Linked DNA regions of Homo sapiens: region 2 is linked to region 1. Evidence: promoter capture Hi-C in 16 types of primary human blood cells and fetal thymus (Javierre and others, 2016). All regions are on one chromosome and are shown on one strand. Each heading gives the region's core, a stretch centred on a gene start or on the middle of the fragment in contact. The rest is flanking DNA. Distances are from core to core; before and after follow the strand shown.

Region 1 (3,801 bases), core at 777-3,276:
GAGTTTGAGGCCATAGCGAGACCCCATCTCAAGAAAGCAGAAAACCAAAACCACAAAAAACATCAGTCACCTCTGCACAAACAGAAGTTTCAGTTGGTTCACACTGGGCTCTCCGCCCTATCAGTAGTATATTGTTAATTAAAATCTGGCCTTACTATTTGAACTAGTGTTGGGATGTTTGATACTAGCACAGTGCCTAACCCACGGAAGCTTCAGAATTATGTGCTGAGTGGATAATGTGCTGGATGTCCCCACTGAGCACATCAGATCCTGCACCCAGTGCAGTAGTCAAGACTTAGCTGCAAATGACAGACACCCAACTCAAACATCTACTCAGGCTAGTCAAAGGTGGGAATTGGGGCCAGGCATGGTGGCTCACACCTGTAATCCCAGCACTTTGAGAGGCTGAGTTAGGCAGATCACTTGAAGTCAGGAATTCGAGACCAGCCTGGACAACATAGTGAAACCCTGTCTCTACTAAAAATACAAAAATTAGCTGGGCGTGGTGGCATGTGCCTGTAACCCCAGCTACTTGGGAGGCTGAGGCAGGAGAATCACTTGAACTTGGGAGGTGGAGGTTGCAGTGAGCCCAGATCGCGCCACTGCACTCCAGCCTAGGCAACAGAGTGAGGCTCTGTCTCAAAAAAAAAAAAAAAAAAAAGGTGGGCATTCATTGACTCTTGCAACCAGGGGATGCAGAGTCAGTATCAGCTTCAGGGACAGCCGGATCTAGAGGGCTCAGACAATGTTGTTCAGACCATCTCTTGCTCCCTCCTTTAGTGCTGCTTATCCATCTCTATGTGTCTTTATAAGTTGGTCTCATTTTCTCCAGCCACAGACAGGGTAAGCCCTCTCCGCCCAGCGTAAAGACGGCTCCCAGTTGCCTTATATCCCATTCCTTAGGCTTGAGATCCAAAAGAATGCTCCTTCCTCTCAGCATCTAGACAGTAATCTCATGGAAGGCCTGTGATTGGTTCTGCAGAGTCGAAAGCCCACAGCCTGCCGCTCGCCATCCTATGGGGTGAGGGGCAGTCCCTCCAATCACATGGGATGGGAAGTCGATTCCCCAACCAAAAAAAGGATGTTGAGCTGAGAAAAACAACAGATGTCAGAGGAGTATCCTGGAGGAGCTGGGATGGGGCCAATCAGAGGGAGGCGGAGGAGGATGCTGGTATCAGTGGGAGGTGCTGTGGAAAGGCGGGGCTGAGTGGAGAAGGCCCTGGGGACACAGGGAAGGAGGACAGCCTGCAGCCTCCGGTGAGGAAAGTCCGCCTGTAGGTGGTGGCTCACAGCAGGAGAGGCAAGACAGTCCCGTGCTAGACAAGGCGCTTCCATTATTTAATCCTCCCAAACACCTTAGGAGGAAGACACTATTGTAATCCCCCTTATAGAGACAGAAAACAGCTCAGAGGGGCTCAGTAACTCGCCCAGGGTCACACAGGTAGGAAGGGGCAGTGCTGGGATTTCTGACTCCCGCCTAAGTTGGATCACCCATAGTCAGAATGTGCACCACGTACCTCCACTTTTCTCTCGTCCGTTTGCAATATCTGAGAATACATAGCAAGGAGGTAAAGCTGTCACCACAGAGCAACCTTGGGCGAGCCTTGGCCCTCTCGAGACTTTAGTCATCACATCTTTGAAATGGGTACAATTTTGCCTCCCGGACTCACAGCAAGCCGCTGGATCTTCGAAGCGCCCAGGGAGCTACGCGCATGCGCGAGGCTGCGAGGGCGGGCACAGGGGAACGCGGGGGAGGGCACAGCGGAGCGCGGGGGAGGTGCGCGCGCGCTCCGGCGCTTTCAAAAGTTACCTGGCGGGTGGGGCTGGAGTTGAGGGAGTTACCAGCTGCGCGCGCGCCGGCCCCACCCTCAGCCTCTTCAGGCACCTGTTGGCTTGAGGGTCCATTCGGCCGCAGATGCCATCCAATAGGCAGCCTCCCTGACCCAGTCCGGCCCCGCCCAACGCCTAGATCCACCAGTCCCCGGGCGGCGGCGTTCCCCTCCCTCGGAGGGCCCGCCCCTCTGGGCGCTTCTTCCGGGTGGGGCCCCGGGCCGAGGCGATGGCGCCCTGGGCGCTCCTCAGCCCTGGGGTCCTGGTGCGGACCGGGCACACCGTGCTGACCTGGGGAATCACGCTGGTGCTCTTCCTGCACGATACCGGTGAGCCGGACCCCGAGCGACCCCGGACCCACCCGATCCCGCGTACTTCCCCAGACGTTCTGGTCACACTGGGTCTCCCGCCTAATCCCTGGAGATCCTGGGATTGGCCCGATCTCCACCAGCTCCTGAAGCCCTCTCCCCATCTATCATTCCAAGAGCCACCTGCTCTCTGTCTGATACCCCGTTGATCCCTAATTAATCCCAGCATCTTCCTGATCATTGCCAAATGCCCTGTCCATCCCAGGACCCAGCCGGTGCCCACCAGATCCAAGGACCGACTTGAGCCCCATGTCCCCTGATCCTGGGACCCACATGATCCTTCCCAGGAACTGACCCCAAATCTTCCTATCCATACGATTAGGAGGCTCAACTAGATGCAAAGATTGGCATTCTGCCCACACCCACACCCCCCACACCCCCATGGCCACTAGCTGCCCAAGTCCAGGCAAACCCTCAGGCCAGAGAACACTCCATGGGGTGCGGCCTGTCTCCCATCTTCCCACAGATTCACCCACCCACCCACCTCCATTTCCCTCATTCCTCTTAGTAGCCCCCTACCCAGCGCCTCACCTGCCACAGGCAGCCTCCCCCACTGTCCCCCACAGCAGACCCCAGCCCTCCTTCCATGGCGGTCCAGCCTCAGTTTCTGGACTGGGGCCCCTTCTGGCTTTCCTCCCAAGACAGACCTCCTCCACCACCTTCACCCTTTAGCCTAAAAACTTGCTCAGGTCTCCGTATCAGAAAACCCCCCTCAAAACCCACCCTTTCTTCTCTGCTCCCCCTTACAACCAAGGGACACAGGATTTGTCTACACTCTGCTGTCTGGTGGTCTCATGCCCCCTCACTCCTTGCCCTGCACCCTACCTCCCCAAAATCCTGTCACCTCCCTGGGCTGAAGCCTGCTGGACCCTTCCGTATGCCCCTCTGCAGCATCTGAGCCTGCCAGCTGCACCCTTCCCACTGTATCTCTCTCAGGCATTTCAGACCTAACCAGTCTCTCACCATTGCAGAGCCAGAGACGCTGGACCCCTCTTCCCTCTCTCCCACATCCAGTCAGGTCTGGCTCCCTTGACCCAGCAGCCCCCTGTCCATTCCTTCCTCCCTCACTTCCTGCCAGGCCTTTGTAGCGACTCTCTTCTTCCTCCTGGCCAGATTCTCTGCCCCCAGGCTTCCCCTGATCCATTTCTTTAGCAATGAGGTTTTCCAAAACAGATCTGGCTCTATAACCTTCCATGGTTCCCTCTGACCCTCCAGATAAAAGTGCAGATGAACTGCTGGCCACACACAGCCACTCATGGAACCAACATCTCCAGGCCTTTGCTCAGCCAGGAACACACTTCCCCACCTCCAACTGCACCCCAACCCCACCCACTCCTGTTCTACCCGGCCCAGCCTCACTGTGCTCTCCGGCCTCTCCAGAGCTGCGGCAATGGGAGGAGCAGGGGGAGCTGCTCCTGCCCCTCACCTTCCTGCTCCTGGTGCTGGGCTCCCTGCTGCTCTACCTCGCTGTGTCACTCATGGACCCTGGCTACGTGAATGTGCAGCCCCAGCCTCAGGTAACCAGGGGCCCCTACTCTCACCAACAGGGACCTAACAACCAGCACCAGTCTCCATGCCAGGCTCTGTGCTGCAGGCTCTTGTG
Region 2 (4,003 bases), core at 233-2,732, 210 kb after region 1:
ATGAGCCTCCGTGCCTGGCCAAGACTTTCATTTTCTAAATTCCTGTACTCTGAAACATTTTTACAAGATCATGCATTGCTTTCCTAATTAAAAAAAAATACATGCTGGGCGCAGTGGCTTATGCCTGTAATCCCAGCACTTTGGGAGGCTGAGGTGGGTGGATCACCTGAGGTCAGGAGTTTGAGACCAGCCTGGCCAACACGGTGAAACCCCGTCTCTACTAAAAAATACAAAAATTAGCCAGGCGTGGTGGCAGGCGCCTGTAATCTCAGCTACTTGGGAGGCTCAGGCAGGAGAATTGCTGGAACCCAGGAGGCGGAGGTTGCAGTGAGCCAAGATTGCACCACTGCACTCCAGCCCGGGCTGACAACAGCAAGACTCTGTCTCAAAAAAACAAAAACAAAAAACAGGCCGGGCACGGTGGCTCATGCCTGTAATCCCAGCACTCTGGGAGGCCGAGGCGGGCAGATCACGAGGTCAGAAGATCAAGACCGTCCTGGCTAACACGGCAAAACCCTGTCTCCACTAAAAATACAAAAAATTAGCTGGGCGTGGTGACAGGCACCTGTAGTCCCAGCTACTTGGGAGGCTGAGGCAAGAGAATAGCATGAACCTGGGAGGCGGAGCTTGCGGTGAGCCGAGATGGTGCCACTGTACTACAGCCTGGGCAACAGAGCAAGACTCCATCTCAAAAACAAAAACAAAAACAAAATACAATCAAATAAATTAATTAAAATAGTGCTGCTATTTTTTCAAGAGGCTAAGGTCCTGACTGGGCATCGTGGCTCATGCCTGTAATCCCAGCACCTTGGGAGGCTGAGGCAGGTGAATCACCTGAGGTCAGGAGTTCGAGACCAGCCTGACCAACATAGTGAAACCCCGTCTCTAGTAAATAGAAAATAAAGTAGCTGGGTGTGGTGGCGCGAGCCTGTAATCCTAGTTACTTGGGAGGCTGAGGCAGGAGAATCACTTGAACCTGGGAGGTGGAGGTTGCAGTGAGCCAAGATTACACCACTGTAGTCCAGTCCAGCCTGGGCAACAAGAGCAAAAACTCCACCTCAAAAAAAAAAAAAAAGAGGCTAAGGTCCCATTTTCTCAGAATAAGCTTATCTAACAATCCCAGACCATTTCCAAATTTTGGAGAAGTAAATGGAAGCCAGAAAAGGCTAAGTAATTTTCCCAAAGTCACATGTAAAATGTAACAGCCAGGATCTGAAACCAGACTTGACTTCAGAGCACTCACTCCTGACCTCTATTACACTACCCCCAAAACTAAACAGTAGGTGGGAAGGATGAGTAGCATACAGTGCCCATTCCTACGCCCTGGGGAACTGCAGTTAAATGTGGCTCGCAGGATCAAGGCTGCCTTCCTTCATGGGTTCACTTACTGTTCCTTTCATTCTGTGTACCAGTTCGTACATTCGGACGCAGCCTTCCACTTTGATCCCCCGTGAGGACTGAAGTACCATAGATTCTGTGTGCTGGGACTCATCTTTGCCCTATATGAGCAGAAAATGGAAAAATAATTAAAAAATAAGTTTTTAATATGGTAAAGTTGGTGTTATCTCTTCTAGACAAAGACCACATCCCAACTTATGAACAACCACCAATAACAAGAGCAAAAAAAAAATTTAGGTCAGAACTAGTGTGCTTTTCATGAATGACATTGACTTTGTTCTAATTGTTTTCTTTAATAAATTGATGTTTGTTACTTTGGGTGATTTTTTGGGTTTTTCTATGTTTTTTTTGACTTGTTTGTTTTACTCTGCCTAGAAAATGTTTCCCCTTTCTTCAGATCAGTGTCCATTTATCCTGGGATGCTTTGGATGGAGTATCCCCAACCTACATCCCTAAGCTTCCATCCTCCTGGCTTCAGGAGAAAGCTGGCTATCAAAGTACTCTATCCTCAGGCCGGGTGTGGTGGCTCACGCCTGTAATCCCAGTACTTTGGGAGGCAGAGGTGGGCGGATCACAAAGTCAGGAGTTCGAGACCATCCTGACCAACATGGTGAAACCCCGTCCCTACTAAAAACACAAAAATTAGCCAGGCGTGGTGGCACGCACCTATAATCCCAGCTACTGAGGAGGCAGGCTAAGGCAGGAGAATCCCTTGAACCCAGGAGGCGGAGGCTGTAGTGAGCTGAGATCGCGCCACTGCACTCCAGCCTGGGCGACAGAGCAAGACTCCATCTCAAAAAAAAGGCCAGGCACCTTTTTCCCCAGCACTTTGGGAGGCTGTGGTGGGCGGATTACAAGGTCAGGAGTTTGAGACTATCCTGACCAACATGGTGAAACCCTGTCTCTACTAAACATACACAAGACATACCCTGTCTCTACTAAACCCTGTCTCTACTAAACATACACAAGACATACTCTGTCTCTACCAAACATACACAAGTTAGCCGGGCATGGTGGCACGTGCCTAGGCATGGTGGCGGGCGCCTGTAGTCCCAGCTACTCGGGAGGCTGAGGCGGGAGAATGGCGTGAACCTGGGAGGTGGAGCTTGCAGTGCGCAGAGATCGTACGACTGCACTCTAGCCTGGGATACAGAGACTCCGTCTCAAAAAAAAAAAAAAAAAAAGTCTGCTATCCTCCTACACCCAGTATGGACTTGAGGAATGAAAAATATGACCTGAAGGCCAGAGTTCATCTTTGAACTTTTCTAAGTTTTTTTTTTTTTTTTTTTTTGAAACAAGATCTCACTCTGTTTCCCAGGCTGGAGTATAGTGGCGTGATCACGGATCATTACAGCCTGGACCTTCCAGCTTCAATTGATCCTCCTGCCTCAGTCTCACAAGTAGCTGGGACCACTGGCGCACGCCACCACACCTGGCTAATTTTTGTATTTTTTTGTAGAGACAGGGTTTTGTCATGTTGCCCAGGCTGGTCCCAAACTCCTAGTCTCAGGCAAGCCTCCTACCTCAGGCTCCCAAAGTGCTACAATTACAGGCATGAGCCACTATGCCTGGCCTATTTTTTTTCTTTTTCTTTTTCTTTTTTTTTTTTTTTGAGATGGAGTCTCACTCTGTTGCCCAGGCTGGAGTGCAGTAGCGCAATCTCGGCTCACTGCAAGCTCTGCCTCCCGGGTTCATGCCATTCTCCTGCCTCAGCCTCCCAAGTAGCTGGGACTACAGGAACCCTCCACCACGCCAGGATAATTTTTTTTGTATTTTTAGTAGAGATGGTGTTTCACCATGTTAGCCAGGATGGTCTTGATCTCTTGACCTCGTGATCCACCCGCCTTGGCCTTCCAAAGTGCTGGGATTACAGGCGTGAGCCACCGCACCCCGCCTTTTTTCTTTTCTTTTTTTTTTTTTTGAGACAGGGTCTTACTCTATCACCCGTGCTGGCATACAGTCGTGCTATCTAGGCTCACTGCAGCCATGACCTTCCAGGATCAAGGATCCTCCTACCTCAGCCTTCTGAGTAGCTGGGACCGTAGGCATGAGCCATCATGTTCAGGTAATTTTTTTGTAAATATGGAGTTTCCCCATGTTGCGCAGGCTAGTCTCGAATGCCTGAGCTCAAATGTTCCACCTGCCTTGGCCTCCCAAAGTCCTGGGATTCCACACCCAGCTTTTTTATTTTCATTAACACACCTGACATGGATATCTTTGAACTTTTCTGATGAAGCTATCTGGGAATGCTAACCTAAGAAGATGCTGAGTCCAGGGCTACCAGTAGCCATCTTGCCACCTAATCTATCTCAACAATGAAACCAATAACTGAGAAATGGAGAGGCAAAGCCCCATGTTTGGGACACTAGATTGAGTCAAAAATAATCAATCCTATGTGGGGGAGATGTTTGAAAAATAATAATAAATAATGTCAAGCAGAAAGATGCAGAATGTAGATGTTCCTAGATCTAGGTGATTCCAAATGCACTCCTAGACTTCCTAGTTACATGAACTAATTAATACTTCCCTCAGTCCCTTAAGCCAAACTGGGTTTTTCTTACGTAAATACCAAAAATTCCTAAATAATGTGACAATCCATTACATA

Evidence for each region. Contacts are between HindIII fragments. The CHiCAGO score rates a contact against its expected background, and 5 or more counts as called.
Region 2: a contact is called between a fragment that was not itself captured here and the fragment with the promoter of ZDHHC12 in region 1, in 1 of 17 cell types (erythroblasts). The highest score is 5.4, in erythroblasts.

Annotation. Positions count from the first base shown.
Region 1 is chr9:128,722,352-128,726,152 of GRCh38, reverse strand. ZDHHC12 (zDHHC palmitoyltransferase 12) reads left to right here and starts at 2,026. Exons shown (of 5, transcript NM_032799.5): 1 at 2,026-2,159; 2 at 3,579-3,715. The coding sequence starts at 2,060. ZDHHC12-DT (ZDHHC12 divergent transcript) reads right to left here and starts at 1,691. Exons shown (of 2, transcript NR_046240.1): 1 at 1,518-1,691. RefSeq lists a silencer at 1,658-2,137. The HindIII fragment of the contact is 13,716 bases long and covers 213-3,801 here.
Region 2 is chr9:128,513,025-128,517,027 of GRCh38, reverse strand. GLE1 (GLE1 RNA export mediator) reads right to left here. Exons shown (of 16, transcript NM_001003722.2): 3 at 1,389-1,499. Among named protein-coding and RNA genes, the nearest start is that of GLE1, 10 kb to the right of the region's middle. The HindIII fragment of the contact is 750 bases long and covers 1,108-1,857 here.